6 separate regions of the Homo sapiens genome follow, and all the other regions are linked to region 1. Evidence: promoter capture Hi-C in 16 types of primary human blood cells and fetal thymus (Javierre and others, 2016). All regions are on one chromosome and are shown on one strand. Each heading gives the region's core, a stretch centred on a gene start or on the middle of the fragment in contact. The rest is flanking DNA. Distances are from core to core; before and after follow the strand shown.

Region 1 (4,040 bases), core at 829-3,328:
TGGGCCCTTGCCAGGCTGATTCACCACGGTGGCCTCAGTATTTAGAACGCCAGTGTAGAGAAGGCACTAACATAGTTTAAGTCCAGTTAAGGTGCAAAACACCCTATAAACTTCAATATCTTACCCACTTCAACACCCTACAGGTAAATGAGACCCTTGCATTATGGAATTGGAGAACTTCAGTTTCTCAGGTTCCCATCAATACCTTTACAATTCTCACTGTGGATTTGCCTGTGAAATGCAATTTCCAGTTTCATATTCCTATTCACAGTCAGCTGACATTTGGGTACCGATTCAAGTACTTAAAAAGATATGGAGTGAATCTTGTCCCCTGCTTTTCAATGTCCTAGGGTAACAGTTTACTCTGGCATCTGCTTGGGACCTGTAGAACCAAGACTACAACTTTCTTTCCTGTGAGATTTTTTGAGGCTTCAGTAAAAAGGAGAAATAGTTTCCAATATTTCCAGATTCTGACCCACAACACATTTATAACAAAAAATCTAATCAGAAACACTCAGCGTTCAATTCTATCTCAGATAAACACACTTACCACAGAGCCAGATACTTAACAGGACCAAGAAAGCAGGGTCATCTCTGGCCCACTGGTCCTTCGTCTGTTTTCGATAATGAAAATTTCTGTAAACTCTCTGTGGGGATGTGAACAGGTAGAGCATCTGCCAGGCAGCAAATTCAAAGTCCATTTGCCGAAAGCGGAAAAGCCTTCTCAGATATTTGTAGCGTTTCGCTCCGGCTGTGTGTCTTGCCGCATCCCTGGAATTCAAGACTCCGTTCCCCTGCACTAAGGAATTCACTGAAGTACTCGGTAACATCTTCCTAGATGGAAGAAAAACATTTCTTTTACACGTATTCTGAAGAAACATTTGGCTACCGACACTCCTCTTCTGAGTTATTTGGCAGGGAGGTCACTTTCCATGTTCTTCCCAACCCTAGAGAAAGGCCAGGAGTCAAAAGCAAATGCAGTTAGTTCTGAGGCGGGTCTTGGGGCTTGGGAACCGCAGACTGCAACCTCAGGCAAGGGCAACAGCCCACCCTTCTGAATCACCTAATAACACTTATCCAGGGGCAGCTACCATTACAGAGACAGGGATGATGTGACTGCCCCATGACTCCGAGGATAGTGATAGAGCCAAGATTGGAAATCTGACTCGAAATTCCGTGCTCTTAACCACCAAGCTTTTAAGAAAATGCCTAAGAAAGCAGTTTCAGCCGGTTAGAACAGTGTTACTGAAGAGGTCAAATAAATGGCCTATTCACACAGATCCATCAGCGCACTGCCAGCAAGCTTCTCGGTCACTAGAATGAGATTAAAAAACCAAGAAAAACTCCGATCCCTAGTGTTTTACATCCGGAATAGTTCAGCAGAGGGAGCGGTAGCGTCGGAGTCCAATCCAACCGGTCCGAGCTCCGGGGAACGCCGGCCACTGCCCGGCTGCCCGTCTCCCCTCCACTTCGCAGGCCCCCCAGACGCCGGCAGGGTCTGGCCGAGCCCAGCTGCTCCCTCCCTGCCCGGGGCCGCGGGTACGGCTGCCAGATTTAGCAAATAAAAACACAGAATACCCAGCTCCATTTGGATTTCAGACAGGCCACGAATAAGGTTTTAGTATGCCTACATCCCACGCAACATTTCGGACATGCTTATACTAAATGCTCTTTCTTTATCTACGATGCAAATGTAACTGGGCGTCCTTTCATTTTAGCCGCAACTCTATCGCCGGCCGAGGGGCCGGACGCCGACATGGTCACTGCCAGGCCGCAGCGACGTCAGGCCGCAAGCTGTCGGGATTAAATGGCCCCCGGCGCGAGCCCGGGCCGCGGGAGGGCAGAGTGGTCCTCAGGCCTCACCTGGAGTCCTGCTACAGCCTCGACCCACGTCCGAACCAGCCCACCACCTCCTCCCAGCAGCCGACCCCAGCCGCCACCGGGCGGGCTTCCCTTCCCTCAACGGAGCCGGCCCTTGGGGCGCGCCGCGTCACGGGAACCGACTTCCGCCGCGGACGCGCCACCTCTCGGCCCCCGTAGTCCTCGGCCCTACCGCCGCGGCCCGCCGGAAGTTGTTGCCGCTGGCTTCCGGTCCCCTGAGACTGGGGCCTCGCTCGCTCCCGACCCGGTTGCAAGTGTTGCGGTGGGAGAAAGTCGCGTCCGCATCGGAGGGGAAGCGCCGTCATGCCTAAGTATTATGAGGACAAGCCGCAGGGCGGCGCGTGCGCGGGCCTGAAGGAGGACCTGGGCGCGTGTCTGCTGCAGTCGGACTGTGTGGTCCAGGTAGCGCGGCCGGGCGCTCCCGGTGGTGACGACCCCTGTCCCAGGCAGGCCTGGCTCGGCGGAGGGCAGCGGGTCGCCCGCGGCGGCGGTTGGAGTTAACCATCCCGGGCGTAGGTCACAGCTCGGGCTCACTGAACGTGCGCAGATCCACTGAGCTGTCGGAGCCCCAGTTCCCTGTGGGGTTAAATCGGAGATAACGATAAACGCACCCTGTCGGGTTTTTGTAAAGGTTAACCCATTTCAGTTCACGAAGCCTTTATTGAATGCTAGCACTCTACTAGGCTTTGGAGACATAAAGGAGAATAAGCCAGGTTTCTTGCCTGCCTAGAAATGATAATCTGTAGAATTAATGATTCCAGAGAGTTGCGTAAACCTGGTACACTGCCCTGGCCAGTAGTGTCTCCTGCCTGTTCAGTTGTGACAATGTGTGCTCAGTTTGACTTGTGTTGATGTGAATTTGTTTCTGAGTTACAGTTCTCTGCATTCTTGGATGTTAAGTTGTAAAAATAAGGCAACTCCATATTTTCACGATTTCGTATCTTGCTTCCCCTACACTCTTCCTTCACTCCCCGGCTACAGACACAGGTCTCCTCAGCACCCTCTTGGAATGCACTGAAACATGTAGTGAGGTTCACAGTGGACCTGAGTTCTGGATTAGAGCTCAAGTAAAGCACAAGTGCCTTTTCCAATTGCAGAGGCCCGACGAGAGGGCATTCAATTGTGTGCAATTGTCTTTGCATTGGGGGATGTAGTTTCAGAAAGTTGCTGTTATTTCAGAGAAAAGATTACCCCCAAATGGACATCCACTGTAAGACTGTACCAGTGTTTCTACCGAGTCACAATTTGTTTGGTTCACTGATTTTAGCAGTCAGCCATTCTCGCCTCCCAATGTCTAGTAAAACTTGAGTTATTATAAATTTAAGAGATTATCTCGCCCAACTTCCTTATATAAATGAGGAAACTGAAGTACCGTTGTTTTCAGGCTCCCCTGTCCAGGGCTGTGTCCCTTCTGCCCCTTACTCACTGGTGCTGCCGTTCAGCCAGCTCCTGGTAAATGCCTCTTAAGTGGCAGGCATGGTACCTGACACTGGTGATAACGAAGATGAATCAGTAACAGTCACTACCCATGTAAGCTTGGTGTCATGGGAGAAATAGACATCTAAGGGTCTAAATTCCTGCCATAAGACTGTAAGCATTTATTAAACATGTGTTTAATGACTAGATCTTGAGGAGAAAAATGCGTTAGCCCAAGGGAGAGCGTCTGATTTTGCTTCAGAATTTGGAATCTTCTGAGATGACATTTGAGCTGAGTCTTAAAAGTTGAGTAGTAGTTTATCAAGTAAAGGAGTGGGAACTGTTGTGGTTGTGGGGAAAATCTGAAAGAACAGCAAGTGCAGAGGCAGGGAGATGTGGGAGGGCGCAGAGGAGCTAGTGTCCTGCCATAGGGGAATGCGACAGAAGGCCTGAGGGGAAGGTTGCAGCCAGGTGTGAAGGCCTGTATGTGTGTCAGAGTGAGGAGACTGGATTTTATCCAGACGTTCAGCATCGGAAGGCCATGTTGATGAGTAGTCAAGGGAAGAAAGTACACTGAGTAGGACTGAGGAAAGAAACTCCAAGTGGAGGACAATAGCAGCAGCACAGAGAATTCCAAGCTGGCTTTCTGCAGCGGTTGATACAGCAAACATGTACGGAGCGCCAGGCTCCAGTTCAGGGAACAAATACTGATGAATGGAACATGGTCTCTCCAGTATAGAAAG
Region 2 (4,040 bases), core at 640-3,139, 960 kb after region 1:
GAGACTTTCAACATGAATTTCTTTTCCTCAGACATCTCTGATACACAAGTAAGACTATGGTTGATATCTTAAGAGATCAGTTCAAGCCCTCCTCCCATTCTTCAGATGAAGAAATTGAGGCTCTGAGTTCACCTATGAGTAAACTGACCTTGTATCAAGGTCACTGTAAATTCTAACAATTCCCTTGCCTATGTAGAACGCAAAGCAGGGTCCGTTCTGGTATGTATCCCTAGTGTCTAAAATGATGCCTGGCATAGAAGCAGTATAACAATAAATATTTGCTGGGTGGGTACTCCTTCATGCCGCACTCCCAGTGAGCCAGTCTTACCGCTGTGCTGCGCTTCTTTCCAGTAAGGATGAACTATCAGGCATAATGAGGCTTGAGAGTGTCAAGACCCTTAGACAAACTTACCAACATGCACTCACACACTGAAGATTTGAGGCAGCTTACACACTATTGTAGGATATATTAAGCAAGTGGATAAAAAATAGAGGTGAGGTACTTACAGATGCAGCCTACTATTCTCTTGTTGGAGATGGAGGGGACTAAATTAGGGTCTTCCCTGGTGCCTGAAGCTCCCTTTGGGGCCAGTACATTGTATGGGTCCTGAAGAAAAAACAAAAAACAAAACAAAACAAAAAAAACAAGAATTGAACCATTAGGCCAAATAAGCCCTACCTTCCAGAAGCTCAGGGGACTGTTCCTACAAGCCAAGTTTCCTGTATCAAATACTCCCAGAGAGGAGACCACTATGAACACATCCAAGGCCATAAGTTACACAGAAGACACAGAAGGGAGTTTCTCCTTACCAGTCCCTTCTTTGCAGCCAGCATGATCTCCCTCTCCAACCCAGTCGCCTGCTCTTCATCAGTGGGAACACCACCTAAAGGAAGATAACGTGAATTATGACGCTGACTGAAATGACTGATAGAAAAACTACAAACAGAAATGATCAAGGAAAATGGTGCCCCGAAACTTCTGTATAAGTTTTAGCGGGCTCACAAGCTCCTAAAGGCTACTCATATCCATGGTCCCCTAAGAACCACCAAGTACCCATCCACACAAGCGGCAGCACTCGGGGGAGCTTTTTTTTTCTTTTTTGAGACGGAGTTTTGCTCTTGTTGCCCAGGCTGGAGTGCAATGGCGCGATGTTGGCTCACGGGAACCTCCGCCTCCCGGGTTTAAGCGATTCTCCTGCCTCAGCCTCCCGAGTAGCTGGGACTACAGGCGCGCGCCACCACGCCCGGCTAATTTTTGTATTTTTAGTAGAAACGGGGTTTTACCATGTTGGCCAGGCTGGTCTTGAGCTCCTGACCTCAGGGGATCTGTCCGCCTCGGCCTCCCAAAGTGCTGGGATTACAGTTGTGAGCCACCGCGCCCGGCCTATGAGCTTTTCTTTCTCCAACCACCGAGGCAAATTTGTCGACATTTGTCTAAAAGCATGTAGAACCCACTCTGCTTGAGGTGGGCGCAGGTTTGAAGGGAGGCCGGACCCCTCCCCATCCCGGTGGCAGCCCCGGTCCCTCCCAAGGTCACCCGGCACCTCCGTTTAGGATACTTTCGCAGCGGAGTGAGTTCGGGGAGCGGCAGGAGCAGCGGTCCAGAATTACAGGGAGATGCCTGCAGAGCCTGAGGCACTGGGGACCGTAAAGCGGCCACTGGGACCTCGAGAAGCTGCACGAGCCGCGCCGCTTTGCCGCCCTGGGACCACCCTGGGAGGGCAACACTCTGGTCCCTGGCACGCCCGGAGACCCGAGTACCTCCAGATGCCATGGAGCGCATCGCGGCCGCGCCACTGGGGCCGCGAGCCCTCAGGGCCTGCGCGGCCAGCGTTCCAGCTCCGCGAAGTAACCTTGAAGCCATTGCGTCCGCGACTAGCAGCAAAACTTCCGGGAACAAGCTGCAGAGACAGGAGGGACTTCCGGGGGCGGGCTTCTTTCTCCTCTCGGTCAGCTTTCGGCTTCCTCCCAGCCCTCGAGCCCGCCCACTCCCAAGACTGTGGCGGGGGCGGAAATTGCGCATGCCCAGCTCTGCCTCTTTCTGCACCGCGTAGTGGCTGAGGCTTGGGGGCGGGGTTGCCTTTAATAACGCTGGGAGGTGGGAAAGTCTTTTTGGTCCCTGGAGTTGAGCGGCTGAACCACATTGGAGTTCCTGTGGGTCTGGCCCCGTAGTCGTGTTCAGCAAACGTGGAGGCTGCTAATGGAAGCTATTAGGTCCCCGTCTGTGAAGAGACTTACTGAACCCCAAATGATTTGAATTTAGAAGTGGGCTCCTAAAGATCACTGCGTTCCTTACTAGGCTGGTTAGTGGCAGGGCTGGTTCTGGCAGTGCGTGGGCCGTCGCGAGCGTGTCGCATTGGACGGGACCTACCTGCAGTCCTGGCCCAGTTTCGTGTTAGAGTTGTACTGTGTGTGGGAGGCGCGGAGGTCCCGGCCTGGGGAGGAGGACAGGGCCGGGGGCGGGACCCCCTACCAGGACCAAGGCCCTGGTGATGTGAAGGAAGTGGCCACTCTTTTTCGAGGCTACTAAGGGAGGAGGAGCAGGAAGGGGAGTTGATAATAGGAAATGGAGTTAGAGCCTGCTGTGACTGGAGTTCCTTGTTTGAAACGGAAAACATATTCCGTCCATGGCTTCCCGTTGCCCATAGGCTAAGATGTGCAAATTTCTTAGGGTGAGCTTTAGTCAGTATAGCCCTGTGACAGGCTAGCTGCATGCGGTATCTGAGTTTCCCTACCAGATAGAAAAATCCCCTTAGAGTGGGAATTAATGCTCATCATTGAATCTTCAATGCCTTGCAGAGGTCTGGTATATAGTAGGATCCAGTAATTTTAGTAAATTTACTACTTGGATAGAGTATACAAAACCAGTTTATAGGGCTTTTCCTGGCCCAGTGAGGTCAATTGGAGGCAACATGGGGAGAGTTGAAGGCTTAGGTGCTCCCGCCTGTCTCATGCAGGCTACGGTATTTTCAAAAGGACGTGGTGGAGCGTTGCTTCACAGGAGCACGTCTGGTCTTCCTGGGTGCCCCCTCCACCAATTAAAAAAAAAAAAAAAAAAACCCTGTATTCTAAGGCCAAAATTTCTTTAAAGGTGGTTTTTGCTTTGAATGGCTTCACTGTTACTCCCTTCTCCCTCACCTCCACTGCAACCCCTCCAAGTTGAATTGGGCGAAAATTCTGAGGATCTGTAGTTAATTTGCAACTGTGGTTAAGGTCTTAGGCAGGAGAAAAAAGCATTGGTCTGGAAAGTAGCCCCACCAGCTAGTTCAGCTACTTTTTATCCTTTGGGCCGCCATTTCTACATCAGTAAAACTGTCGTTCAACTAGGTTAGTATTTCCCAAAGTGTATTGCATGGCATCCAAGTCTCAAGACATGATCTCAAGAAAAAGGACTTGGTCAAGACAGGGAGGGCCTGCATTTGATGACCACCCTTTTGGAGATGGACACTAGCATAATAAAGGCTCTGATTAGGCTTGCAGTAAAGACCTCTTATTTAATTTACCTGCAGTTTAAGCCAGAGTTTCCCTGTCTTAATTGACCACAAAATCCTTTCTGAGGAACACCTACTAACTTGCCCCTCAGCAAACCAGTGAGGTATTCAGCTCTGATATGTTATGATTCCCTGCTGCCTGACCAGAAGTGGTTTACTCCAGGCTATAAAATGGAAATTGAGTTTAGGCTTCTCACTCTCATAGTAGGCTTGCCTAATAATAGGAAATTTTCGCAGGCCCTCATCCAACTCAGGAAAACCTCAGCCTCACTCTGGGATTATTTAGATTGTGTGAGTGAGCTCCAAGGTCAGGTCCAGGCTCCCCAGATGTCCCCGCATCCCTTGCTGCTTCCAGCTCCCACCACTGTCAACTCACACCCAGTCCCTCAGGTCTCCTTTGGAAACAGTTGGCTTGGGGAACAGTCTGCCACCTCTGCTCTATCATTGTCTTTGCCAGCACAATAAACTTATTTTTATAGGATAATTTTCAGTTGTCAAAATAAATGTACATTATAAGTTGAACAGCACAGATATATAAGGAACAAGCTA
Region 3 (4,040 bases), core at 1,094-3,593, 940 kb after region 1:
TTTTTGTATTTTTAGTAAAGACAGGGTTTCACCGTGTTAGCCAGGATGGTCTCAATCTCCTGACCTCGTGATCTGCCCGCCTCGGCCTTCCAAAGTGCTGGGATTACAGGCATAAGCCACCGCGCCCGGCCCCAACTCCATCTTAAAACTAGCAAGGCACATTCCTTGCTAGTCCCAACCCATGGTCATAAGATGCTATGGCTAAAAGAGCAGTTTAGTAATGCCTGCAAGGACAAAATCCTACAACAACAAAATGTCCAGATGCTCCAATATTGCCTAACAATATATGATTTAAGATAGTTATAGTTACAGGACTCGATGGCTCACACCTGTAATCCCAGCACTTTGGGAGTCCAAAGTGGGTGGACTGCTTGAGCTCAGGAGTTCGAGACCAGCCTGGGCAACATAGCAAAACCCGGTCTCTACTAAAAATACAAAAAAATTACCTGGGCGTGATGGTGCACACCTGTGGTCCCAGCTACTTGGAAGGCTGAGGCAGGAGGATAGCTTGAGCCTGGGAGGTGGAGGTTGCAGTGAGCTGATATCAGGCAACTGCACTCCAGCTTGGGCAACAAGGTGAGACCCTGTCTCAAAAAAACAAAACAAAACAAAATATATATATATATATATATATATATATATATATATAGAGAGAGAGAGAGAGAGAGAGAGAGAGAGAGAGAGAGAGAGAGAGTCATGCTTTGATGTATTTATGCATTAAAATGCCAAGGATAACTTTCTTTAAATCAAAAAGCACTAAATTTTGTTATGCTGTCAGCCCACCCTCATGTAGACATAGCTTAGTTTTTACATAGATAAGACCCCTCTATAAGAAGAGTTTAATATAAAGAGGGTGTGTTCCCCCTCTTGCTTTCTGAGGATGGCCTACTCTGTAACTGAGTAGCTTTCAATAAACAATCGCTTCTCACTGCACTCTGCAACTTGCCTTGAATTTCTTCTGGGCAAGATCCAATAACCCTCCCTTGGGGTCTGGATCGGGACCCCTTTTCCAGCAACAATATTGTTTCTTGAACTCGGTGGTTATGCAAGTGTGTCCACATTTTAATCATTCATTGAAATGTACATGTACACTTGTGATTTCTGCACACCCGCTTCAATTTTACAAATTTTATGCTCACAACCCATTGGGAGAGGTATATATACAGGGAAATAACTATGGATCCGTTTGGTAAACAAATGTAGAACTCAACTATCCTGCACTCTTGAAGCAGCTGACTCCAGTGCCGCAGGGGGCTACCTGCATGCCAATTCCACACCCAATAATCTTGGGCAGGTTACCAAAGTGTGAAGACCCTGACTGAAAAATGGGAGTAATAATACAACTACCTGATATTGTTGCAAGGATTTAATATAACTTATGTAAAGTGGGCAGAAGTGCTCCGCAGGCACAGAGCAGGTGCTCAATAAATGCCAGGACCAAAATACCACGAAACTGTAATTTTTATAAGGAAAAGGATCTTTTCTTCAGTGCTCAACGAGGAAATATTATGGGGCCGTGCGCAATAGCTGACGCCTGTAATCCCAACGCTTTGGAAAGACTAAGCGGGAGGATCGCTTAAGCTCAGGAGTTCGAGGCTAGCCCGGGGAACATAGCGAGATCCCTTCTCTACAAAAAAAATTTTTTTTAATTAGCTAGCGTTGCGCGGTGGCCGTATGGTGGCCAATGAGGTTTATCCGAAGCGCGATTATTGCTAATTGAAAACTTTTCGCAATACCCCACCGTGACGACTTGCAATATAGTCGACATCGGCAATTTTTAACAGTCTCTACGGAGACTATTTCAGTAAAAATAAATAAATATGGTGCGCGCCTGTAGTCCCCCCTACTGGCTGGCGCGGGAGGATCGCTTGAGCCCAAGATTTCCAGCCTGAGCGACAGAGCAAGACACCTTACCTAGAAAAAAAGAAAAAATAAATATTTTGGGTGAAATATCCAGGGCCGGCCTCCTTGGAGAGGGCGCTCTCACGAAGGAGCGTGGCCCGAGGTGCTGGGACGCGGGAAAGACGTCTTTCTGGACCGGTGCTGGGACGCGGGAAAGACGTCTTCCTGGACCGGTGAATTTCCAGCTCCACAGACTCCGGCCGCGCGCACACCAGCCCAGCTCCACTTTCTGCCGCCCGCGTCCCCTTTAAGACGGAGCCATGACATCATCCCAGACACTGCGCAGCCTACCTTGGCAACGCCGCGACCACTTTTTTCCGGACGACCTCAATTGGCTGGCCAGCCTCCGGAGGCCCCGCCCCCTTCGCGCAGCCAGCCCCGGGCACCTGCTGTCAATCGGGCCAGGTGGGAGCGATGATTGGCCGCCGGGCCCGCCCTCCAGAAAGCCCCGCGGGGCTCGCGTAGGCTGCAGGCTCGGGGAGGGAGGGCAGCGGCGCCGCGTCGGGAGCCGCCGCCGTCCCGGTCCTCCCGCCCGCCCGCCCATCCGGTGCCTCCTGCAGCCCGCCTGCTGGGCAGGGCCGGCGCGGCCCGGCCATGGAGTCCTACGACATCATCGCCAACCAGCCTGTGGTCATCGACAACGTGAGGCCCGGCAGCCAGGGGGAGGGCGGGCGCCCCGCCCCCGGGGGCGCACGCGGCGGCGCAGGGAGAGACCCCCGCCCGCCTCGGCGCGTCCTCCGCTCACTGCGTGGCCGTCGCCCCCGCCGGGCCGCTGGCTTCGCCCCGGGGGCGCGCGCCCTCTTGGCCTTGTAAGGCCGGCCATGGGGCGAGCCCCCTCGCCCGCGTCGCAGAGCCTCTTCCCCGACCCCTCCCCGAGTCGGGCGGGGAAGTTCAGGAGAGCTTGAGTGACAGCCGGGCGGCCGGGCGGGGACGCGCCCCGGACTCTTCTCAGTTGAGAGTGCGGTTCCTGGGCAGGTTTCCACACCAGTTCCTTTCCGCGTCCTTCGGCCCTGGCTCTGGCTGCCTGGCGGAGGTGGGGTAGCATTTGTCATTTGCACACTGCTGGCTTTATCTTTGGGGCTGCACCCCGAGGCAACAAATGCAGGATGCTCTGTCACCCACATGTCCACCACCATCTGGTTTGCCTTTTGGCTACTTTGACTTTCTCCTTAAATGCTTCCTGTGCTGAGCAAACATTCCACAGCCAGCAGAGCAATGGAGAGTTCATGGCCACTCTTCCCAGTATCAGCAAGCAATTTGGGGTGATCGTTTGGAAGCCTCAGAGGAAAGATGTCATCAGGCTTCCTGTGGCTTTGTCCTTCAGCAGTGGGGCTCGGCTTGCTTTCACCTGCCTTAGGAAGATTTCTGGCTTCCGAGCTCTGATATGGGGAGAAGATAAGGGCTGGGATCTTTGAGTCTGCCCCTAGCTGGGTATGTGCGTCCGGTGTGCGGGCCTTGGAGTTTTTGGTAATGACTCACTTGTGCTCTTTCTGGGATCTGTCTCCCTCCCACATGACCCCGTGGGGTCCCTGAATGACTGTTTTAGAGTACCCATGTGGGTTCCCTGAGTCACAGCAGGGGATGTTTAATAAGGAGGTTAGCACTGAGCTTGGGGACGTGCTGTCACACCAGCAGGACGCTGCAGGAAGGAGCAGGCTACTTCCTTTCTTGACGTGCAAATAACTCGTATAGGCTAATCAACAGGCTTATAAGTTAAAAGGGCTACCGCTCGGCCCCTTGGGGATTCCATCCCCTCCTCTGTAACTTGGAGATGTTTGTTTCTGCTGCAGACTCAGAGGGTTGCGATGAAGAGTGGTGGGACTGAGTTGAGAAGCTTATCCCTTCGCTGGGTGGGAGGTTTCTAATTGCCCCGTTCTTTGGGGGATCCTTAAGTCCAGCTTCCAGGTGGGGGCAGCGATAGGACCAAGTTCTCCTAGTAGTCTCTGGGAAGCCACTTGAGGGAAGCTGCCGGTCATCCCATGCACCCATTGGTCTTCTCCAGCAGGCCCTGTAGGTCGTCCATGTTCCATGCCTTCTGGGTTCTTGGGGGAGAAGGAAGCTGTTGAAAAAAAAAAAAAAAGACCCACACAGAGGGGTTTCTTCTAGCTTTTGGGAGTAGCATGTGCTATGGAATCCTG
Region 4 (4,040 bases), core at 580-3,079, 870 kb before region 1:
TCAGTGTTGGCCAGTGCAGTGGTGTGATCTCAGTTTCACTACAACCTCTGCCTCCCGGGTTTAAGTGATCCTCCTGCCTCAGCCTCCCGAGTAGCTGGGACTACCTACAGGTGTGCACCACCACGCTCGGCTAATTTTTGTATTTTTATAAAGATGGGATTTTGCCATTTTGGCCAGGCTGGTCTCGAACTCCTGACCTTAGGTGATCCACCTGCCTTGGCCTCCCAAAGTCTTGGGATTACAGGTGTGAGCCACTGTGCCTAGCCTCCTAGGTACTTTATTAAAACAGTGTCTCTACTTCTTTCCCTTTCTATGGAAATCTGTAATTGAAGGGAAGAAAAGCATTAGTCGTTGTTTCAGGAAGCCCCCTTCAGTTTGTATTAACTATTGATTTTGTTAAATCAAGCATCTTTTTTTGGTAGTTATGAATAACAAGAAGAATAAGAGAAAACTCTTTGTTGTATTGAATTGTTTGGGATAGACGCTTTCCTTTTAATCAGATCAGCCTCAAACTGGGACATACAAATGTTTGTTATACATTTTCAGGTTTAATATATCCAAATATTTTTTATACAGTACATCTTATTGTTTGTCTATTTTTAATTTATATAGATATTGAATCAAAATCATATTAAAATGCTCAGATGTACTTATGCATTAGGGTACAGGCTAAGCTGCTGTAACAGGGACTTCAGAATACAATGGAACAAACAATTTTTAAGTTTTTCTTTCTCCTGTAATAGTCCAGAGGTAGATAGGCAGTCCGTAGTAGGTGAGCACCTCAGTGTTTTAGGGGTTCCACAGTTCTCTGTGTGCTTAGCCCTTCCATAGGGTATTGTCCTTATTCCCATGGTTGAAGCTGGGTTACCTCACAACTGCATCCCAGAAAAAGAAGTAAACAGCTTTCTTTAGGAATATGGTTCATATTTTTGTACACATCACTCTGCTCATACCTCCTTGGCCAGAACTTAGTCACATGGCCACCCCCGATTTTGAGAGGAGCGTGGGAAATGTAGTCTCTGGTTGCCCACTCTGCCTCCTGCTAAGAGGGGCGGGAGAGGTGTTCCATTACTAAAAGTAAGAAAGAAGAATGAATACTGGAGGACAGTGCCGTTTTGCCATCGTGGAGTTGGGGTCCCAAGACCACCCTCACTTATGAGATCAACTGCAAGTTTGGGGATCCACACCATCCTTAGGTTAAATAATTGGCTAGAAGGGTTCAAAGAACTCCTGAAAGGGCTTTTACTTATGGTTGGATTTATTACAGTGAAAAGATACAGAATAAAATCAGCCAAGGGAAGAGGTGCATGGGGCACACAGAAGAGTCCACTTACGAAACTTCCAGTTATCCTCTGCCAGCGAAGTTATGGACGGTGCCAACTTCTGGCACTGATGTGTGACACTACTCATGGAGATTGCCTATCAGGGAAGCTCACCCAAGCCTTGGTGTCCAGCATTTGTACTGGGACTTGGTCACTTAGATATGATTGACTGTTGGCATGGTTGACCTTTAGTTTTCAGCCCTTCAGGAGGTTGATAATACATGGCTCAAAGCCCTTCACCTTAAATCACAGTGCAAAACTATCTGGAGTGGCTCAAAGCCCCCAGGTAAACAAAAGCACTTAACAGGGTGGACATTATTATTATTATTATTATTATTATTGACAGATTCTTGCTCTGTCACCCAGCCTGGAGTGCAATGGCGCAATCTGGGCTCACTGCAACCTCCGCCTCCCGGGTTCAAGCAATTCTCCTGCCTCAGCTTCCTGAGTAGCTGGGATTACCGGCGTGTGCCACCATGCCCGGCTAATTTTTGTATTTTTAATAGAGATGGGGTTTCACCATGTTGGCCAGGCTGGTCTCGAACTCCTAACCTTGTGATCTGCCCGCCTCAGCCTCCTAAAGTGTTGGGATTACAGGCGTGAGTCACTGCTCCCATAAGGTGGACGTTCTAAGGGCTTAGAGGTTACCTCCCAGTCTCATCTTGGACCATGTGAAGGGGGGGAAAAGAAAGGATTACCTCCCAGGAACCAAGGGCAAAGGCCAAACATCTGTTTGGGTTAGGATTCTTACTGCACAGCCACATCTGTGGATAGGTACATCTTGTTGTTTTTTGGCAAGCATAGAAAAAGTTACGTAAAGTTGCATAATATGTATGTGTTTGTTGAAAGCGTTTTTAAAACTAGATGTGTAGAATCATACACATTTGTTTATTTTCATTTATTTATTTTTTTGAGACGAAGTCTCACTCTGTCACCCAGGCTGGAGTGCAGTGGCATGATCTCAGCTTGCTGCAACCTCCGCCTCTTAGGTTCAAGCAGTTCTCTGCCTCAGCCTCCGGAGTAGCTGGGATTATAGGCTCCCACCACCACGCCTGACTAATTTTTGTATTTTTTAGTAGAGATGGGGTTTTACCATGTTGACCAGGCTGGTCTTGAACTCCTGACCTTGTTATCCACCCACCTCGGCCTCCCAAAGTGCTGGGAGTACAGGCGTGAGCCACTGTGCCTGGCCTATTTATTTTTTTTTTGAGACAGAGTGTTGCTTTGTCACCCAAGCTGTAGTACAGTGGCTCAATCTCGGCTCACTGCAATCTCTGCCTCCTGGGTTCAAGCGCAGAATCATGTACATTTAAAAAATTGCAAAAGACTCTAGAATTTGTCAGGTCTGTAAAAAGTAAAAGTAGATGTACCTCTTCAAAGACTTTCCTCCCCATCTGATTAGAAATAAATAGTAACTTCTCTTAGAAGCAAAATTTATTCAAAGACCTGTGCTCCTAAATATTTGCCCTGGCATGCTTATACTGGTCCAAGCAAGCATTAGGTCATATCCTGTTCTCTTCCTTATTTAAAAGTGTTTTTATCCTTCTCAGCATTCCACAAGTTACTTCCTCCTTCCTTTGTTCTCCTCCACCTTTGCCTCTTTTAAAAAGTTCTAAGTTGCTAGCCAATCGGAACAAATACAGAATGTGAGGTCCCGTTCCAGCCAATGGAAACCAGACACAGCAGTATGATGGACGCATCAGGTTATAAATGACCCTGTCTCCTTTGTTCCTTGTACTCTCATGGCAAAACTGCTGGCGAGTGTACCTTTTCTGCAGGAAATAAAAATGGCCTTACTAAATAAATTAAATTTATGTTCAAGTGCTGTTTCTTTATGGCACCGGGGAACAAGCATTTCAAACAGGTCCAACTCTTTCCACATACGGAGGAACTAAAATATGACTGATTATGACTTGCTTAAGTTCAGAGAACCGGTTAGCAACAAAGTTGATGCTGTCTTTGAATCTCTACTTCTTTTTTTTTTTTCTTTTTTGAAACGGAGTCTCACTCTGTTGCCCAGGCTGGAGTGTAGTGGCACAATCTCGGCTCATTGCAACCTCTGCCTACCGCGTTCAAGTGATTGTCGTGCCTCAGTCCCCCAAGTAGCTGGGATTACAGGTTCCTGCTACCATGCTCGGCTGATTTTTTTCTTTTTAATAGAGACAGGGTTTCACCATGTTGGTCAGGCTGGTCTCAAACTTCTGATCTCATGTGATTCGCCTGCCTCAGCCTCCCAAAGTGCTGGAATTACAGGCGTGAGCCATCGCTCCCGACTTCTGCTTATCAATATGGACTAGTTGGGGTCTAGATGGAGCTTAATTGTAGGACCTGTTTTCTTCCTTAGTTTTGTTACATATATGGCTCTATTATGATCCAGACTGTTGCTAGATTACCTGGTGAAGAAGCATCTGTTTTGTTGAATTGTGTTAGGTTACTTCAGATCAATAGGAGTATTCTTAACTTTTTAGCAGTTCATATTGATACCATTATTATTTTTTCCATTGAAGATTTGGGAACATAATTTTGTAGAAGATGAGTATGATTTTGTACCACAAGCCAGCAGTGCAGCCTTACAGAACTTTTTAGCTTCTCTACCCTAGAAGTCAACTATTGTGTGCAAAATAAATAGGACTTGGCTGACTCACTCTATGGATGAGTTGTAAAGATAAATGGTAGATGTAAAGGGGTCTTGGAAAACTAAGGATACTTCAGAAGTGA
Region 5 (4,040 bases), core at 1,123-3,622, 860 kb after region 1:
GGTCTCTTTTATACAGGCAGAAAACACATTTAGTGGAATCACGGCATTTTCCATATGAGTCTGGCTTATGAGCTACAGCAATTTGATTAGTTACAGCTTGATGTTTTTTCTTTCCAATTGAAAAGACTATATTTAACATTGTGATTTAGAGAGTATAGTAGTTGTGAGGTCCTTGTGTAAGAGAAGAAAGAGGGAAATTATAATGACGATCAACAGTTAGGAGGAAAGGGGTCTTCCCTGCTGCCCATGAGTTTTTTATAACATTTTACAAAACAGTGTAGGTAAAGAAAAAGGATAGTCTATGATCAGAGAAACAGGTTATAGGTGCCTGTTGCATGACTCAGGCCTCATCATCACATTCCTTTAAGGCTCTAAATAAAATTTCAACAGCTTTGATTTTGAATTATTTTCACACAAGTAAAGTGATTTAGTTATGCTAAATTTGAAGAAAGATTCCTTTTTGTCACCAAATTATTAACTCTCAATGTAAAAAATACGCTTTAGTAATTTTGTTAGAGATGCCTTTGAGTAGCCTTGTCCTAATTTTACTTGTTCCTATTTCAAAATGCTACCACAGAGTTAAATTCACCCTTAAAATATAGACCAATCCCAGAAATTAGGTCATCACAGATGACTAAAACATTTGCTCCCACATGGGCAGGTTGGAAAAAATAAAAGAACAAATGTTTATATTGATAGTATAAATAAATGTGATTGGGGCTAGTCCACAAAATTTGAATGCTTTAGGAACAGGCTTCTAACCCTGACAAATGCCTGTAGAAGTTGGATAACAAAGACATTTTAGATGCTTTGCTATCTTAGCTATAGTAATAGTAAAAGGTCATTCAAATACAAAGACTCAGATCCTAATGGCAGTGTTTGGGCTGACCACTGTGCTAAAGAAACAAGATCAGCCTATAGAAACACTCCTGTGATCTCACCGGTCTTGAGAAATTCAGAGGCTGCTATTAGTGTCAGAACAAGCCCCTGGTTTGAAAAAAGAAAATGGGGAAAGTTCTGATGCCTTTTACATCTTAGGAGGGCCAGCTGATGTCATGAAAAAAGGTGATAGTGGAATCTAACAAAAATTCTTCATGATGTTACCCATAATTAGATAGCTGTAAAAATAAATTGGCAACAATATTAATTAAGCCAGGTAATTTTAGAGGTATTGCCAATAATGGTTACAAAACATCCCCCTGTGAATGAAATCCTGATAAAACATTTAAATGTAGACGTGAGCAGGAACTGGAGAGCTTGAAGGCCCTTCAGACCCCTCCAAGTAGACTCCATACAAATGCCTTCTGCCGTGGATTATAAATACATTCTGGTTATTGTTTGTTTATATTCACTGTGGATTGAAAATTTCCCTGCCAGAGTGACAAAAAGTGCTTGATTTTGTTTTCCAACCTGGAAAATCCCCACTTACTTCTAATGACAGAGATACTCCTTTTTCCAGACCAATGCTGTGGTTTGTTTGGCCCTGCTGAGTCTCTTGTTGAAATATGATCCCCAGTGTGGAAGGTGGGGCTTGGTGGAGGGGATGGAGCCCTCGTGAATGGCTTGGTGCCATTCTCATGGGACTAAGTGCTCACCCTTAGTGCCCACAAGAACTAGTTGTTGAAAAGAGCTTGGCACCTTCCCCCACCTCCCTCTTCCTCCCTTTCTCACCGTGTGGTCTGCACGGGGCTCTCCTTCACCTCCACCAGGAGTGCACCCAGCCCAAGGCCCTCAGCAGAAGCCAATGCTGCTGCCTCTACAGCCTGCAGAACCCTGAGCCAAATAAACCTCTTCACACATTACTCAGCCTCAGGTGTTCCTTTACAGCAACACAAAGGGACTAAGACATACTGTTATTAAGAAACACTGAAGTTGTGCCTTTAATCCAGAGATTTCACTGTCCTTGTTTTCTCCAGTCCTCTAGAAAAACAGAACTAATGGAATTTTTTTAAAAATAGCATACCTCTCAGAAACCTCCAAAATTCTACATCTTAAGAAATTACCATTAGCATTATACGATCAACCACCTCTAGGTCCCATGTTGCTTCTTATGAATTCATAACATGCCACTGTATACAGTTTGAAGCTTCATCCCATCTTAGATTCTACATGATTACATTTTATTTCCAGCTTTATCTCAACATAAATATGAACTATACAGTATATCCAAAACACACCCGCCTCTACGTGATCTACAGCTTCTGTACAAAAGGCACACAAAGACACGAAATTTATTGCTATTATAATAATATGCTCCCCATACGATCTGTGCTTCAGTGGGACACTACATCTTATTAGCCCATGTCAGGCTTATATTGGTCTGCCACACACTCATGTATATTCAGAGTGGTTAGATATGTTCAGATATTTACAACACCCACGTCTCCAGTAATCCATTCTTTGAAAGAATACCCAGCAATCCAGCGTAAAATTATCATAGATGATTCCAAAACCTTCCAGTAGCGATCCTTGATTTGCTCTTCATGCATACTCTGCAAACTCCAGTTCCCACCAAAGGAATAAAACGACTAGAGAGAGAGTTCAAAACTAGTTGGTAATTTTAGCTGAAGCCATAAACGAGACCACTCTGCTCTGAAAGTCCAACCGACTAATCTAAGTCCATTCTTTAGAGTTATCAAGGACAGTCATATAAGCTTTATTTTCCTCTTAGCCAGCAAAGGGACAGGTCATGCCATAACAAATACTCCTTTTTTATACCTAGAAAAACACCACAGGGGAACAGGACAGTTTGTGACTATTAGAAAAAGCCTTGACCTCTAAAGCCAACCCAGCTGGCTTCTGGAACATGCGCCCATTACCTGGAGGCGCTCTAGGCCCTTGTCTTGCAGACCTGTTACGAGGACTAACAGTCCTTGCGTTTCTCGTAATTACCTGTAAATGGTTGGCTAGTATCTCCTGTCTAGAGTTTTAGATGGTACTGCACACCATTTCTTTCATCATGCGATTCAACAACTCGCTTTACAACAGACAGGAAAAAACTGTTAACTCTGGTGTAACTATAGACTGCGTTCATTAGACACTCTTGAGCCAGCCTCCACTCCAGAGCAAACCCCTGACTCCATAGACCCACCCCCCAAATAAGCTAATAACCAAGGCCCACATCCTACAATTGCTACTTCCTGACACCCTCTTAGGAGACACCCCAGCTCACTGTTGTTTGGGTCCCCCTTGCTGCAGGGAGCAACAAGCCCAGCTGCTTTAACTGCGGTGCGTTGCTGCTGCACTGCGGGGAAGGGCGTTGACCATTTGGGTGTACACATGAGTGCAGTGGCATGGATGAGTGTGGCCTGGGTTCCAGTCCTGGCTCTGCCATTTACTGATCATGGCCCTTGGGCACACTCTGCCCCTCTCAGAGCCTCAGTTTCCCTATATGCAAAACAAACATCCTCAGGAGGATGGTGTGAAACATGAGGCCAAATAAATAAGTGGTAGCACTTCCTATTGTCTGTTACTGTGGTATTCCAAAGACATTTCCCAGTGTTAAACCCCTAGAAATGGCAACTTCCTGATGGGGATGGAACTCATTTGGCAGGGGGCATGAGGCCACCAATCTGGAGCCTCCTGAGCTCCTTGCCACTGCCTGGGGCCCCTCCTCCCACGCCCTCATCCCTCCCACCCTCACCACTGGGTCCACCGCCAGCCTGGGCTCCCGTTTGCCTCAGCCCCGCCTCTCAGCAGAACTGCGGCAGCATGTCCAGGGACAAGGTTCTTAGAGGGACTGGATTTGGACCATTCCTCCCAGCCAGATATTTTGCAGCAGGGAGAGGAGGCTGCATCAGATTCCTATGCCCACAAAGCACCACCTCCTTTTCCAGTTAAGGCAATGTGGGGCTGCAAATTTTCATGCATTCAGGATCCTTCTGTAACTTAATTCCTTTGCCGTCAGTCCCCTCCCGCTTCTGCAGAATGCATGCTCCTAGCAACTCTCACAGACCTGACCCCTGACAGTCATTGCCCACCCGGAACTCCAAAGCCAGCAGGGCTTGCTGCTGCCTAGAAAGACCTATTGCCATCATTCC
Region 6 (4,040 bases), core at 829-3,328, 840 kb after region 1:
TCTTAAATATTAAGAAAGAAATCCCAACAGATGTGAAACCCAGGTGAGAGAAATAAGTGTACAGAGAAATAAGGTCTATAAAGAAGTTGCTGGCGAAAACCAGGTGCTGTTTTGATTTGGCCATTTGGCTGGCTGGTTGGCTTTTAGGGGAGTTGATAGCAAAATCCAGGTGCTACGTCACATTCCTCTTGGGATTTTTCTGTCACCTGATATGTACTGTTGTTGACTCGGAATAGCCATATGCTTCTCAAGTCAGATATGCAGAGGGCAGAGCTCACGATCTGTTATAAAAATTTAGGAGGAAAATTTCTGTTGGTGATTCAGTCCCAGGCTGAGATCCATTTTACTTCTGCACAAAGATGACCTTGACGATTGAACCACAGGTACAAGCATAACTTTCCTCCAAAAGATCTCTGAGTCTGTCGAATTGTTAACCCAGTTGGGATCTAGAGTTCCATGCCATAAAACTTGGAAAAGTTTATTCTTACCTTAAAAATGGTTCAGAGCAGGTGTCACCAGTCAGACGGTTCTACCATTAAATAACTCCAGTTCCTCCCCATGGAATGGGATTCAGTGGCCCCCGGGGAGGGCTTGTGCAGGCTGTTTCCCCAGGGAGATGAGTGAGTTGAACTGTTGGGTTATTAACTGAAGTTACTTCACATTTTCATTAAACCTTGGCTCAGCATCTACCTGATAATTTTAGTGTTGGTGCATCAGTAATACCTTTCCTGGTTCATTGTATAGAACTGTCATCAGCACGGGAGCTGCTGTCTACCCGCTTGTGGGTTGTGATCAGTAGAAAGTGACAGAGGAAGTCGAATAAATTAGGTGTAAATTTAAAAGGAAGACATGGCTTGTCTGTCATCATAAGTGTGGGCCATAGATTTGTGGAAGGTCTATTCTTACTCTGATCCTGGGAATCATACTTGAGTTTTGCAAAAACACCACTAACCTAGACTCTGTCCCTAGATTATATGGCTTCAGGCAGGGCCAGTCCTGTTCTATAGAACCCAAAAGCTAGTAAGAAATTAGTGATAACTGCAGTAAAATTTAACCTTGTCCCTGAATTTATGAAATAATACAGTATATGGTGGTGCTTAGTAATGAAGTATTTGTACCTAAAATTTACTCTTTTGTGGCAATTGTTAGTTCAAGTGACCAGGTCCCACAATTTGTTGAGAGCAGTCTGGCCCAGGTAGAAGGAACGTCAAGCAGAGTGGTATCAGGTGGTTGATCATTTGAAGGGGAGAGAGAAAAGGAGACCACCTCTTCTGAAGAGGAGGTTCACATACTTGGATCTCTCCTGAGAGAAATCCACCTGAGACACCAATATCCTGGCACCCAGGACAGGAATAACACTGGGCTACTAGCTAGAGATTCTTCTTCTTGGCCTTTTTCAGGCTTAGGTGAGTGATCAGATATTTTAAAGTAAATGAGGCTAATAAGTCCAAATAATGAAAATCCTCATTTTTACATTTGCAGAAATCTTGTGAGGTAGACAGACATGCAGTAATTCCTATGATGATAAATTTTAAAACCAGTGCATCTAAGAATTATCTTAGAGGTACCATTCCATAGGTGACTGTCACCAAATTGGCCCTGTTGATTAGCCCTCAGGCCTGAGCTTAGTATTGTTAAGCAGATAGAACACACTAATCCTAACCCCCATCCCTGTTCCACTGACTTACATTGTATTCTGATTTTTTTTACAAGTTGACCATCAGCAAATTTGCATTTGAAAAGTTAGTCAAAGACGTCGCTTGAGTGTCATTACCTTTGCAAGGGTTTTTAGTTCTCTTGTAAACCAAAAAGCTTAGAGTGGTCAGTCCTGAACCGCCTAGTCAAGGGGCAGTTATAGCAATAACCGGTGCTCTCTCAATATGTAGTTAAAAGATAAATCATTACCAGAACACAAATCAAGCCGTGTGCTTGAAACTGTCTTTTGTAACTGGAGAAATCTATATGCAACCTTTCTTCTATCCTCCTTTATCTGATCTCTTTAAACTCACTGATCTCTTGTTTTTCTGAACTCGAGGATGAAAGTATTGAGTCAGAATTTATTAGTTCATCAATCATTTAATCAAATAAAGACTGGTTTTTTTAATAACCGGAGAAGGTTGGCTTTCTGAACAGAGCCATTCTGTGACTCCACTGCATTCTGATAATAAATGTCAAACACTGTCACTCAGAATCACAGCCAGTACTAGCTTTAGTGATTCCTGAAATTCCTGTCACCTTTTAGTGTGTTAATATATAACCCCACATGTCTGAAGGACAGGTACACATCTTTTAATAAGATATGTCATTAATAAGGCATATATCATTGCTGTCTTTCGGAAGCTTTGTGAGAGGTGATAAAGCCAGAGGAGTGGCTCAGCCCCATCCATCCACACTCCCAAGAGTTGACCTCAAAAAAATCACTTGCTAGGAAATAGGAGGGTGGGGCTGCAGCAACAGAAATCTGATCTAACCGTGTTTTCCAGCTGTGGCAACATAGAAATGGGCCTGCAGACCTCCGGAAAACTGTAGTCTATGGCAGAGATGCCAAGGAATGGGAATCAGATCTCAGGCACTGAAGGTTTCTGCAGAACCAGGAAGGGCCCAGGGCATCCCTGGTTTAGGACCCTGAGTATTCACTGATCCTTTTGTTTTTCTATTTGTTTATCAACAGTATATGTTTACATAAATGTAATAATCTAAAATAAGCAAAAGAAGTAGATTAATCATATTATCTGTAAAAATCTGCTTAAATAACACTCTCAACTCAGGCCCAAGGGCTGTGAACACCACACTGCACACGCCAGCCCCAGACCTGTCAGCACTCAGAAAACCCTGCTCCACAGCTGGTCATGTCCCTAGCTGTGTCCTCAGCTCTGCCTCTCTCCTCCCCAGACAGAAATGTGTACTGTGTATTACAGGAATAAAAATAGGCCAGGCTTGAGTCAGGTGTAACGTTGTGAAAAGCAAAAATAAAAAGAATACGAAATCTCAGAATATTAAGAAAAAGAAAAACATTATTATTAAAAAATGGAGGAAAATATATTATAAAAATAAGCCAGGTGTGGTAGCTCACATCTATAATCCCAGCACTTTGGGAGGTCAAGGCAGGAGGATTGCTTGAGCCCAGGAGTTCAAGATCAGCCTGGAAAATATAGCAAGACCTTATCTTACAAAAAGTTTTTCTTTTAAATTAGCCAGGTGTGATGGCACACACCTGTAGTCCCAACTACTAGGGAGGCTGAGGCAGGAGTTAGAGACTGCATAGAGCCCAGGAGTTAGAGACTCAGGAGTTGAGCCCAGGAGTTAGAGACTGCAGAGAGCCGTGATTGCACCACTGCACTCTAGCCTGAGCAACAGACTGAGACCCTGTCAGTAAATAAATAAATAAAGCCTGGCATCTGAACCACCTGTTTTTCCTTTTTAAAAAGAATCACTTCAGTCTGGGCACGGTGGCTCACACCTGTAATCCCACTGTAATCCCAGCACTTTGGGAGGCCAAGGACGGCAGATCACCGGAGGTCAGGACTTCGAGACCAGCCTCACCAACATCGTGAAACCCCATCTCTGTTAAAAATACAAAAATTAACCAAGCATGGTGGCACACACCTGTAATCCCAGCTACTCAGGAGGCTGAGGCAGGAGAATTGCTTGAGCCTGGGAGGCAGAGGTTACAGTGAGCCAAGATCGTGCCACTGCACTCCAGCCTGGGTGACAGAGTGAGACTCTGTCTCAAAAAAATGAATCGCTTCAATTAAGTTGGCCGTTACCCATTTTATTCAGAAGCCTTAAAAAAGGATTCTTGATAGAGATCATCTGGCTTAATTTAGGAAAGTATGAATCAGCAAAAATAACAGGAGTTGTCTGGCACCTTTCTTCTTAAAAACCAATTACTTTTACAGTGGCACAGAATTTAGTTTTGTATAAATAGCTACCCACGCACACTTAAAAATAGATCACACCCACACCACCTCCACCACCAGAGGGCTGGTGTCTACTATGGGAGCCTTTGGGGTTTTTTTAGAAGATGGGTTTTTTAAATA

The links. Contacts are between HindIII fragments. The CHiCAGO score rates a contact against its expected background, and 5 or more counts as called.
Region 2: a contact is called between the fragment with the promoter of COX5B here and the fragment with the promoter of COA5 in region 1, in 2 of 17 cell types (neutrophils and megakaryocytes). The highest score is 6.4, in neutrophils.
Region 3: the fragment with the promoter of ACTR1B here is called in contact with the fragment with the promoter of COA5 in region 1 in 1 of 17 cell types (monocytes); the score reaches 9.4 in monocytes.
Region 4: a fragment that was not itself captured here is called in contact with the fragment with the promoter of COA5 in region 1 in 1 of 17 cell types (activated CD4 T cells); the score reaches 6.2 in activated CD4 T cells.
Region 5: a contact is called between a fragment that was not itself captured here and the fragment with the promoter of COA5 in region 1, in 1 of 17 cell types (monocytes). The highest score is 7.8, in monocytes.
Region 6: a fragment that was not itself captured here is called in contact with the fragment with the promoter of COA5 in region 1 in 1 of 17 cell types (monocytes); the score reaches 5.6 in monocytes.

The regions. Positions count from the first base shown.
Region 1 is chr2:98,606,550-98,610,589 of GRCh38, reverse strand. COA5 (cytochrome c oxidase assembly factor 5) reads left to right here and starts at 2,078. Exons shown (of 3, transcript NM_001008215.3): 1 at 2,078-2,283. The coding sequence starts at 2,185. UNC50 (unc-50 inner nuclear membrane RNA binding protein) reads right to left here and starts at 2,001. Exons shown (of 6, transcript NM_014044.7): 1 at 1,864-2,001; 2 at 551-834. The coding sequence starts at 830. RefSeq lists a silencer at 1,774-1,873 and an enhancer at 1,937-2,926. The HindIII fragment of the contact is 2,113 bases long and covers 1,306-3,418 here.
Region 2 is chr2:97,643,911-97,647,950 of GRCh38, reverse strand. It overlaps COX5B (cytochrome c oxidase subunit 5B), which reads right to left and starts at 1,889. Exons shown (of 4, transcript NM_001862.3): 1 at 1,762-1,889; 2 at 811-884; 3 at 508-607. The coding sequence starts at 1,864. RefSeq lists enhancers at 1,785-1,964, 2,145-2,194, 1,997-2,931. The HindIII fragment of the contact is 14,381 bases long and covers 1-4,040 here.
Region 3 is chr2:97,662,347-97,666,386 of GRCh38, reverse strand. It overlaps ACTR1B (actin related protein 1B), which reads left to right and starts at 2,343. Exons shown (of 11, transcript NM_005735.4): 1 at 2,343-2,544. The coding sequence starts at 2,497. It overlaps LOC124900516 (U4 spliceosomal RNA), which reads left to right and starts at 1,656; the gene lies at 1,656-1,796. It also overlaps a transcript of C2orf92 not described here and the pseudogene RNU4-8P. RefSeq lists enhancers at 1,825-2,164, 3,205-3,274, 3,240-3,881 and silencers at 2,245-2,704, 2,785-2,844. The HindIII fragment of the contact is 7,381 bases long and covers 1-3,738 here.
Region 4 is chr2:99,474,177-99,478,216 of GRCh38, reverse strand. All of the region lies in intron 1 of REV1 (REV1 DNA directed polymerase), which reads left to right. Among named protein-coding and RNA genes, the nearest start is that of REV1, 14 kb to the left of the region's middle. RefSeq lists an enhancer at 1,957-2,620. The HindIII fragment of the contact is 9,790 bases long and covers 1-4,040 here.
Region 5 is chr2:97,749,428-97,753,467 of GRCh38, reverse strand. It overlaps a transcript of ZAP70 not described here. Among named protein-coding and RNA genes, the nearest start is that of ZAP70, 38 kb to the right of the region's middle. The HindIII fragment of the contact is 568 bases long and covers 2,089-2,656 here.
Region 6 is chr2:97,768,300-97,772,339 of GRCh38, reverse strand. It overlaps TMEM131 (transmembrane protein 131), which reads left to right. Exons shown (of 41, transcript NM_015348.2): 33 at 1-43. Among named protein-coding and RNA genes, the nearest start is that of ZAP70, 57 kb to the right of the region's middle. RefSeq lists enhancers at 1,200-1,712, 1,713-2,226. The HindIII fragment of the contact is 528 bases long and covers 1,815-2,342 here.